3 separate regions of the Homo sapiens genome follow, and all the other regions are linked to region 1. Evidence: promoter capture Hi-C in human tissues and cell types (Jung and others, 2019). All regions are on one chromosome and are shown on one strand. Each heading gives the region's core, a stretch centred on a gene start or on the middle of the fragment in contact. The rest is flanking DNA. Distances are from core to core; before and after follow the strand shown. Region 1 holds the start of WDR26 (WD repeat domain 26). Region 2 has its middle 54 kb from the start of DNAH14. Region 3 overlaps CNIH3 (cornichon family AMPA receptor auxiliary protein 3).

Region 1 (3,647 bases), core at 422-2,921:
CTCTTTCCAAATGATCCCAGCCCCTCCGTTCCCATAAACACTTGTAGGTGATTGTCTTTCCTGATTGGTAGTTTGCTTGGGTTGTTGTCTGCCACGGTTGGGGGTGGGGAGGTGTCCCACAAAGATGCCTCCAAGATACACTTGAAAAACAAATCCTCCAAGGTTCATTATTTCCACCAGCTCTAATCCACCCCTCCCCCAACACATACAGAAACACACTCCCGCATCTGTCTTTATTGACAGACAATTAAGCTCTGAAGGTGCGTGGGGAGAAGTCATTCTTTGGGTTTCTCCTAACCCTTCCTAACCCCTCAACGCCTGTCTCGTCTCACAATTTGTCAGACTGATTGATTTTCCCCTATTTCCTTTCAGGTCCGCTCCTCCTCCCCGGTCGCCCTGAGCCGCGTCCTCCTGTGTACTGGGTCCTGCGTGCCCAGCACTCATTCTCTTTGACCGAGCTCTTTCAAGCCCCCCTCCCCCCTCCGCCCCTTCCCCTACCCCCCTGGAGCCTCCGTCCCTCGGTCTGTCCATCACCAGCTGGCGGTAAGGGATACTTACTTGAGCCCTAAGCCATTCAAGTGCTGTCCTATTAGCCTAATGACATCCTCATCTGACTGGGAGAGCCGCTTCTTCTTCTTGAGGCTGCTGCCCAGTTCTGGGGTGGCCAAGGAAGAGGAGGCGGCGGTGGTGGCGGAGGCAGCTGCGACGGTGGCTGAGGATGCGGCGGCCGCCCCGCCGGGAACCCCGTTATTGACATTCAGGCTGTTGCTATTGTTGCTGGCGGCGGAGGGGGCGGAAGGCAGGAGCCCATTGGCGTGGGCCAGGTCCCCCGCGGACGACGACGACGAGGGGGACGACTCCCCGTTCTGGGCCGACAAGCAGGCGAGTTCCGGGGTCTGTCCCTGGCCCCCGCCGCCCCCTCCTCCTCCACCGCCGCCGCCGCCACCTCCTCCTCCTCCTCCTGCCCCATTGGCCTGCATGATGCTGCCGCTGACCAGGCTGTGGCCGCTACTTCGGTGGGGGACAGCAGCGGCGGCGGGAGGGGCAGCAGCCGGGGGAAGTCCCACCACTACCACCACGGAGGAGGAGGAGGAGGAGGAGGACGAGGACGACGAGGACGGAGGGGAGAGGCCTGCTCTGCCTGCCGAAGCCCCGGGCTCTCCTACTCCCTCCGCCGCCGAGGCTCGGGGTTTCTTCCGCGGGGGCGGGGAGGCTCCGCCGGTGTCCGAGTCGGAGGAGGAGGAAGCGGAGGCCAGAGTTTCCTCGCCGAGAGAGGCCGTGGTGGGAAGCCGGTGGGGCGAGGCGGGGGAGGGGAGGCGGGGGCCGGGGAGAGGGTCGGGGTGAGGGGGGCCGGGGAGGCGGGGAGGGGGTCAGGGTAGGAGGGTGAGGGTGAGGGTGAGAGGAGGGGGAGGAGGAGGAGGGGGAGAAGGAGGATCCGGGCCCTTTCCCCCCCCCCTCCCGGAGGCAGCTCGGGGTGCGCGGCCCGGGGGTCGCGCCGGGGGGCGCCGCGGGGCGGCTGCGGGGGCGCGGGGCCCGCCGCTGGGCTGAGCCCCGGCAGTGGCTGCGGCGGCGGCGGCGGCGGGCGGCAGCGGAGGCAGCTGCCGCCTCTGTCCTCGGATCCGCTCCGCTCTGCTCCCTGGTGTGTTGATTCTTCCCCCAGCTGCTGCCTAATGGAGTCCAGGCGCTCGCGTCACAGGAAATGCCTATACTGCCCTCCTCACTCACTTCCGGTGGCAGGTATGGAACCTATAGGGGGCCTGTCACCCAGCACGTGCATCGGGGGCTGTCCCGGGGGTCAGGGGAGGGAGGCCAGCGGGCCGGCGGGGTCCGCCCCGACCCCATCCACGACCCCGACTCCTATCCGATCCTATCCCCGGCCCCGCTCGGGCCTTTCCCCTTGCGCCCTGGCTCGGCTGGCTCGACGAGCAGTAAGTTCGTAGCCGCCCTCCGAAGCCGGGCGTGCATGGGATGGCAGAGTTGGCGTGCGTGCGTGAGTCCACCAGTGTGGCATGGGCATGTAAGGTGCGCGGAGGGACTGCACCTTCTCCATCAGGTGCAGAAGGTGAGGATGGGGCAGGGGGCTAGGAGCTTCGACAGGCAGGAACTTCCAGGCACAGGGCTGTGGTAGGCCCCTCTCAATGGTAACCAGGACCGAAATCGGGTTTCACAACCTACTTGTTTTAGGGTGGAAAAACTTGAATTTCCACAGCCAAGTGCCACACAGTTGCTGTACCCGGGGCCATCCCGGGAGCTGTGAGATAATGAGCCGGTGAGACTCTGCTCCACCCTGGGAAGGGGAGTTAGTCTAGAGGAGCATATCTTATGGGGACAAGAAGTCACAAAAAGGCTGTGTGGTGTGTAGAGAAGGGGAGGGACTCTGCTGTTGAGGCTTCACTCTTTTTTAGCACTTGCCCAGCACCTCCTTCTCTCTTCCAGCTGCCTCTTGAGTCACTGCCCAGTTTAGGGAGCAGTAACATAAACCAAACAGTTGCCTCCAAAATATGCATTCTGAGAAGGATTCAGGCACCCATTCAGATCCAGGCTTGAAATTTTTACGTGGCATGTGAGCCTTCTGTGTCATCATGACTTACCAATTTATGTGAATGTAGAAATGCAGCAACAAAGACTGGGCTGAATCTTAATCATTGGCAAATGGTGTGCATTATCCCCAAACAATTATTTTCATGTATGTGGTTGATAGCATCTATACTCAATATGTATAAAGATTTTCTCAGAAATTTAAAGTCTTTCTCTGAAGTAGTTTTCCTGTGGGGAGGGGAAAAAAAACACCTTAGTTTCTAATTAATACATCATACATCGCTGATATTTATTATAGTAATAACTGAAAGTAATTTTGAGGCCTTTGGAGACAGTTGTTTTTAAATTTGGAAATACAATAAAAAATGATGCTGATGAGAAATTAGTAAAGAATCCTGAGGTTTATGGATCCTCAGACAGGAAGAAGTAAGAGGAAGGTCAATGCAGGATCTTACAGGGATTTGGTTTTGTAGTTCTTACTGCTTAAATTTGCTTCCAGGTGGCAGCTGTAATTGCAAGGTGACTCACATACAGTGTTTATATTCACCTGAGGCCGACCTGAGTTCTAGTTGAGGTTCATAGAGCTCTGTCACTGTATCCAGCAGAGCCTGAATTACTAGATAGTTAACACCCTCAGAGAGCCCTGTTTGTATATTAACTTTAGACAACCTTATTATTAAAAGTGTTGTTTAGGCAAAATTTAATTTTTGCAAAATGGTTTATAATAATTTATTAGGCCCATAGCAACATTGAAGACTTGCTTCTGAATAAAGACTGTAGGTTTTATAAAGGAAATCAGTCACTTCATGGCAGCTACAGACAAAGCTCACACTTCATTAACAAAAGTAAAATGATGAAAAATAAATTGGATTCCATTGCTATCTAAACTCTATATTCCAGTTTTTCTAATTTTTAGGTAACCAACACTGCTCGTGTTAGAATTCTGAATTTATAAAGTCCCTTACAGAACATTTTTCTCTGTACTAAAACACAGCTTGAGAATCTGTTATCTGAACTCTGGGTCTTTAGGTCTTTCTAAAGCCAAGTTTCAGGTCTATGTGCAGATGAACAATTCTGAAATACCACTCTACACACTGAGGAACCTTCAG
Region 2 (3,647 bases), core at 593-3,092, 440 kb after region 1:
CCCATCACCTTCACGCATTGACCTCCCTGCATCACTCATTCATTACTCATTCATTTATTCTCTTTCCTTTCTCTTCTCCCTCCTTGTCTCCTCTCCTATTCACTCCCTCTCCTTTCACCAACTCTCCCCTCCTCTCCTTCACTGAGGAGGCAGGCAAGATCAGACACCCAGCTGGGGGCTGGGCATAAAGAAACATGCATCTGACCTTTTCTACATGACAACTGTGGAAGTCTGCTGCTAAATCTTTCATATGATCTGCAATTCTTTTTTCCCACCTACAGATTACTCCACGCTTCCTAGCTCTTGTCATAAATCCACAGATGCCTCATTTCACAATAAGGAAAACTGAGCCAAGACGGGTTTTAGTGACTCATTTAAAATCTCACTGCTGCTTATGGCACCTCTGATTATCATCCCCAAATAAAGTTTAAAAGCCACCACATCATGGGCTATTTTAAAAGATAAACTTAGGCACATTAAAACTTTAAAGAGTATATTTGAGTAGACAGGAATTCATGAATCAATAACACTGGACCACCCATGGTTCAGCACTCCACTGTGGGGGACCCGGGAGGCAGAGAGAGGAAAATTTTATAAGGTGTTTGGGGAAGTAAAAAATATTTACTTTTATATAAAAAAAAATTTGGCTAAAGTGGAAAGTTCCTAGTTAGAGGTTAACTGGTGGTTTCTGATTGGTTAAGCTTAAGTTTCATTTTTCTGTTTATATTGAGCTTAGGTTTGCTTTTGCAGGAATCTGAGGCACAAGAGTCTTCTCAGCCTAATGGACTCACAATTTTTTTTTCTTTTTAACAGCTACAGTCCATTTACAGGTTAATCTTTAGGTGAACTCTGGAGCTGAGTTCAAAGTCTTCCTTGTAATCCTGGGAAAGAAGAAATGAGAGGCCAGACCTGGCAATTTCTGAGCCATGGTCAGAGAGCAAAATATGAGGATCATGTTGACTGTAGACCTAATGCATTTTTATTTTAAAATCCTTTTTCTTAACGAATCCAGACCATTGAAATCTATCTGTAATGGGTTTGCAATTCTACTGGATTTCCTACCCTCACTCTTTTAAATATTGATTTGATATTGCCTTTAAAAGTTATATTTGGAGCTTGGAGGATTTTAGACTTCTAATATAATATTCAGTAAAAATTGAAATATGGAGGAGATGTGATGAAATAGCTGGTGACAGCAACTTCCACAGTGTTCAGTTCATTTTAGAAACAATATGAATGATTATTAAATGAATATGTTGCTCTGTGTATATACATTTATATATAAAGTCCCATCAAAAGTGGGAAAATGACATTTATAATAGCAATATTAAATGTAACTATTAAATATAAATATTGAGTCAAATTAACAACTAGTAGGGTTTTCATTTTTCTTTTGCAGTGATTTTTCTTTTGACATGAATGCCTGAATGGTTTCTGCCCTAAGCTGAATAAAGGGCAAGGCTTCCCCTCTGGCTGCCGGGCTGGGTGACCAGACCGCACACTTCAGTGCACCTGTGAAAAGCAGATTATGAGCCGTGTTAGTCTTGCGGCGTCTGTTCTGGAGAAGGCTGTATTAGTCTTAAGGCCCCGAGAAGGCTGTGTTAATATTAAGGCACGTGTTCACTGTTGGGAGAGGAACAGCCTTTTGCTCAAAATGCTTGATTTATTGCAGGAACAAGCCAGCTTTCTGAGCAAGTCTGTCTGGCTTCTAGGGTGAGTTAGAAAAATAATCTAAATGGATCTATTACAAGCATAGAGACTGAGGCATGTCAAACAAGACAGTAGAAACCTAGCGCACCAGCCATATAGAAAGGAAGGGGCTATGGGCATTTGTTCTAAGTCTATAAAAAGGGTAATTACTTTGGAAAGTAGTTCATTTTCTGCCTCATAAAGGCAGCAGTAGATTAGTTATAAATAAGTAATGGCTCATAATTCATTAAAAGCAAGAGGAGGGAAAAAGTTTTAAGGAAGCATGAGTTTTAAGGATAACCTTTAAAATTCAAGACAATGCACTGGGACAGCAAAAGTCCCTCCCCAAACATGCATCAAAATAACCAAAAGGAGACATTGAGCTCCACATAACGGCAGTTTCTTCCAGCTCCCATCTGCAGTGGGCACATTCCTGGGTGTCGTCCTTCTTCCGTATGCACAGGCAGAACACCACACTTGGAATCAGAAGAATTAAATTCAAGTTGCTCCCTGTAATCTTAGACAAATCACTTAATGTCCTTCAGCCTCAGTTCTTCAGTTGCAAATGAGATAACAGCACCTGACTGACAGAGGGGTTTAAAGCTGCTTGTTTTATTCACTCAACAAACACACGATTTGTAATTGAAGTCCTATTTTGTTCCACGTCCTGGGGAAGGTGCTGAGGATGAATCCAGTGCCCCAGAATTCAAAGTACCTCCCTCCAGGGCTCACCCTAGACCAGCAGGGTCTGAATCTCTGGGTGTAGGGCCCAAGCATTGGTTTTTGGCTTTTTGTTTTTGAGACAGTCTTGCTTTGTTGCTCAGGCTGGAGTGGAGTGGTGTGTTTGTGGCTCACTTTAGTTTCAACCTCCTGGACTCAAGCAATCCTCCTTGCCTCAGCCTCTCAAGCAGCTGGGACCACAGGCATGCACCACCATGCTCAGCTAATTTTTAAAATGTTTGTAGAGACAGGTCTCACCGTATTGCTCAGGCTGGCACTAGTGTTTTTTACAAGATCCCCGAGTGAGCTCAGGGCTAAAGATTACAGGTGTAGGCAATAGTGGTAAGTATCCTAATGGAGGTAACATTAAATGGAAGTCAAGAGAGGCTTCAGTGAGCTAAGTCTTGAAGGAGGAGTGAGAGTTTGCCAGCAGAGGGAACCCAGTGAACAAAGGCAGGGTGCATTTGATCTGGTAGTTCAGAGTGGCTGAAGCCTGGGATGCATTTACTCAGGCTTGGGAGATGAGTTTGAGGTAGCAGTGAAGGCATAATGCTTGGGCAAAGGAGTGCTGGGCTCTCACAAACGCAATGGAAGTCCCTGCAGGTTTTAATATTGATATACTAGGAAAGTGGGGAAAGGATGCCCTATTCAATAAATGGTGCTGGGGAAACTGGCAAGACACATGTAGAAGAAGGAAACTGTATCCTCATCTCTCGCCTTATAAAAAATCAACTCAAGATGGATCAAAGACTTTTAAGTCTAAGACCTGAAGCCATAAAAATTCCAGAAGAAAGCATTGGAAAAACTCTTCCAGGCATTGGCTTAGGCGAAGAATTCATGACTAAGACCCCAAAAGCAAATGCAACAAAAACAAAAATAAATAGATGTGACCCAATTGAACTAAAAAGCTTCTGCACAGCAAAAGAAATAATCAGCAGAGTAAACAGACAACCCAGAGTGGGAGAAAATCTTCACAATCTATGCATCCAAAAAAGGACAAATATCCAGAATCTACAAGGAACTCAAATCAGCAAGTAATCCCGTCAAAAATTGGGCAAAAGATAAGAATAGACAATTCTCAAAAGAAGATGTGCAAACAGGCAACAAACATGAAAAAATGCTCAACATTACTAATCAGGGAAACACAAAACTACAATGAGATACCGTCTTACTACTGCAAGAATGGCCATAATTAAAAAATTAAAAAATAGATGTTGGCGTAGATGTGGTGAAAAGGG
Region 3 (3,647 bases), core at 335-2,834, 290 kb after region 1:
ATAATGATCACAACACAATAACAATAGTGGTGTCTTCTTTTGCTGGAGGCTTCTTCACTTTTGAGAGCACTGTCATTCATAGTACATCCTGTGTCCCTGGCTGGTAGGTATGGCATTTTACAGATGGGTAAAATAAGACTCAGCATGGGTAGCTGCTTTTCTAAATAGCACACAGTTGAGTATTATGTAACTGTAGGAATTTATATAATGCTTTGAGACACTGGGCTAATATATTGAGACTTATGGGATTACAGCTGTAAAGCTTGTTGTCTGAGTCGACAGGGGCATTCAGAGATGGGTAGAGACTCTGAGTCTCACAGCTTCTACTGTCTTCAAGATAAACTCAGTGCCAGGAGCTTCCCTGTGGCTTCCATAGCTGTGACTTTTAAAGTGTTTGGTCCCAGGCATGCTGACACCAGCCCCTCAGAAAACCTATGCCCTTGGAATGCATGATGAGAGCCAGGAGCAGACGGATCTCCAACAACAGGGGCGCTTGCTGCCTCTTCATCTCCCTCATCTTCTCCCTTCCCCTGGTCTTAAGGAATCCCTTTTCTCCACCAGGAGCATTATTCCCTTGCTTCAACTCCAAGCATCCCCTTCCTACTTCTTTTCCTTTAGGGGTAAGAAGAATCTCTCCCACAACCCCTGATGCCCCTCTCCACCACAGTAGTAAAAATAAGACAGGACTTGGCACACGATTCTATTGTTTTCATAATCTATAAAGGGTACCAATCAGCTGCAGGTCATTGATGGGATAAAACAGCAAACAAATGGATACATGAATGAATGAGAGGATACATAACTAGAAATAAAATATTTAGAATGCAGACAAGTAAAATTCCTGGAAAAACAAGATTGTGGACAATGGCTTACAGCTGAGCTGAGCATGGCATATACTGCTCTGTTGGGTGGAGGGCACATGTGTGCAGGGATGGAAACCTGCTAGAAGGTTCTTGCACCAGCCTGGAGAGGAGGTCCAGGGGCAGGATAAATAAAAAGGAAGGAACAAATGCAAGTGGCTGTGAAGAAGCAAGATTTGGAAACAGACTTACATGGAGACTGATGAGAAGAAGGAGTCAGAGATGGTATGGTTAGTAGAAGTTGGAAATTTAGGAGATAAAGTTTGCAGGTACTGATAGGAATGTGAATTTCAGCACAAAGTGGTTGTGGGATATCCAGGTGGAAATGTTTGCCAGCAAATGAAAATTGACTATTAGCATCTGGGTAGGAAGTCAGGACAGGTGGAATACAGTTAGCGTTTACACAGTCCTTACCGGTTATCATTAATGTCCTTTAATAGGGGCCCTTTGAGGTGGCCTTGTTAAGGAGCCACCCCAGACCAGTGACTTCCATCTCTCTATGCTTTTGCTTTCACTGTTCCACTTCTAGGATGCCGACCTCTGGTTCCCATAAGTGATTAGGTTTTACTCGCCCTTTCCAACTTCCCTTTGATCACAAACCTTCCATGATCCCCCTGGTTGGAATGAATTGCAGTCTTTCAGTAATCCCACAATACTTATATTGAGATTTAGGATTTATGACTCTAGAAAGCAGGGTAATAATACATGGCAATTCAATAGGCTGTGGCTTGCATGAAATAGTTTCTCCATTTGTTGAAAGAATGAGATTGGCACCATTCAACAGCTTCTCTTATTAAAAAAAAAAAAGTGTTTTCCAAAGCTAAGGGATGACTCAGGGTCATGGGGCTGTGGTGAGCGCTTGCATCAGCATCTCTGTATTTTGCTTAGAAGCTTTAGGGGTGGTCCTTATATAACAGACACTCTCAGAGTTGGGAGGGAACGCCTGGTCTGACTGCCCACACAAATGAATGAGCATTATGCCTGCCTGGTGGTTATTCAGCCCCTGCCCGAGCATGTCCGGTGACAGGGAGCTGTGTCCTGCCGGCCTCGATGGCTTGTTAAGGAAGGGCTGAGTGGATGGTTGGGGGAGGATAAACAGTGAAGAGCACAACTTTGCTTTTCCCATTGATTACTCAGTCTGGGGCTTGCTGATGGTATCATATGAGATAGGTTAAATCATGCTATGGCAAAACAACAACAACAACAACAACACTCAACTCTTGGCAGCTTAAAACAACACAAGTTTCTTTACTGCTCACACTCTAGTCCATCATGAGTTGCCTGGGGGCCTCTTTCCTTACTTGTGGCTTCAGGATGATGGAGTACCCACCATCCTAAATGCTTTTTGCTTTGTCAGAGGAAAAGGAAAAGAGACTCTGGAGAATTTTGTATCAGCCGTTAAGTGGTCTGGCCTTCTCTCCACATCACTTCTGCCCACAGCCCATCAGCAGCCCCAACCCCTGAGAGCTGGAAAATGAGACCTTACCACCTTCCAGAAGGCTGAGTGCTGGGTGTGAGTGGAGGCAGCCATAATGGCTATGGTGCAGGCCTCATGCAAATGGCCTGGCTGATTTCCATTTGGTCTAGAAGGAAGAGGTTCCTTACCTCTTCCACATCATTGTGACAAGAAGCAGCTGGTGAAGTAGGCAAGGATCAGTGTGTGTATCAAAAGGTCACTGTCACTCCTAAAAGTCTCTGGATTAATTGGAGGAGCCTCTTCTACTTGTAAGGATCCTGTTCAGTGTTCTAGGCATAAGAGGTCATCTAGAGAAGCCACCTGAAATGGCAGAATAAATTCTTCAGCTTTTTTCCCAACCTCCAAAAGGCTGGAGACCTCCGTGACTAGCTGGCCTGCATTAAGCAGTTTTCCTCTACGTGGAGACAGTGATGAATCCTCCCTGCTTGGAAGGTTGCAGCCTCCACAATAAATCAAGCCCCAAAGAGAGAAGAAGCAGTGGTGATTAAGAGTGGGACCTGAAATCCAAACTGTAATCAGTCAGAGATTTGTCATTGGAATTGGAGATGGAGATGGAGAAATAATGGATGATTCAGGCCCACGGTGGCTGTCTCTAAACATGTTAATTGCCTCAGCTTAAGTGGCTGAAACTGATGATTAGAAAATGTAGAGATGTGCATAGCAGAACTCACAGCCACTGCCTCCCGGGGCTGGCGCACCCAGCTCTGAGAAAGTGGGCTTTCTCTTTGAATGGGAGGGGGTAGGGTGATGCCTTGGCTGGGGGTAGATAGGATTGGTTATCACAGCTCTGAGGTCCTATAAGGAGATACAATAGGGACATGGCGTGCCCCCTCCTGCCAGGTGGTTGAGATTCACAGGGGCTGGTGGTACCTGCTTCACCCACCAAGGGTCACCACCTCTGGAATGATGGCTCCTTTGCTCTGATTCCTCAGGTGATTGCCTGAGAAGTCTAAGGTGAGGGTTAATGCAATTCATCTACACTGGACTTTGAGAATAAAGAAGGTGCCCCATAGTTACAAAATGTCTTACACGTGTGCTGTGCATGTCTTTATTTTTAATGTGTGCGTATGTGTTTCTCCCTCTGTGTCTGCCATCTGGGGTAGTTAGCTCATCTAACTAAATTGAGAGACCAAAGTCATGGTCCATACCCAAATGGGATGGTTTGAGGGAGTTTGTTCTCCACCCAAAGAAATCTTAGTTTGTAACCACAGGCTGCATATCTAATGCCAGCCAGCCATGTTGTAAACATATGCACTTGGTCATTTCAATGCACTTTACCACGTATTTGTTAAGTCTCTCCTAACTGCCAT

The links. Contacts are between HindIII fragments. The study calls those that stand out against the background at their distance.
Region 2: a contact is called between a fragment that was not itself captured here and the fragment with the promoter of WDR26 in region 1, in 1 of the 25 tissues and cell types used here (H1 embryonic stem cells).
Region 3: a fragment that was not itself captured here is called in contact with the fragment with the promoter of WDR26 in region 1 in 1 of the 25 tissues and cell types used here (mesendoderm cells).

What each region holds. Positions count from the first base shown.
Region 1 is chr1:224,433,126-224,436,772 of GRCh38, forward strand. WDR26 (WD repeat domain 26) reads right to left here and starts at 1,672. Exons shown (of 14, transcript NM_001379403.1): 1 at 559-1,672. The coding sequence starts at 1,280. It also overlaps a transcript of CNIH3 not described here. RefSeq lists a silencer at 1,651-2,050 and an enhancer at 2,391-2,580. The HindIII fragment of the contact is 17,142 bases long and covers 1-3,647 here.
Region 2 is chr1:224,873,400-224,877,046 of GRCh38, forward strand. No RefSeq gene overlaps it. Among named protein-coding and RNA genes, the nearest start is that of DNAH14, 54 kb to the right of the region's middle. The HindIII fragment of the contact is 4,981 bases long and covers 1-3,647 here.
Region 3 is chr1:224,725,229-224,728,875 of GRCh38, forward strand. All of the region lies in intron 3 of CNIH3 (cornichon family AMPA receptor auxiliary protein 3), which reads left to right. All of the region lies in intron 1 of CNIH3-AS1 (CNIH3 antisense RNA 1), which reads right to left. Among named protein-coding and RNA genes, the nearest start is that of CNIH3-AS1, 3.5 kb to the right of the region's middle. The HindIII fragment of the contact is 5,372 bases long and covers 1-3,647 here.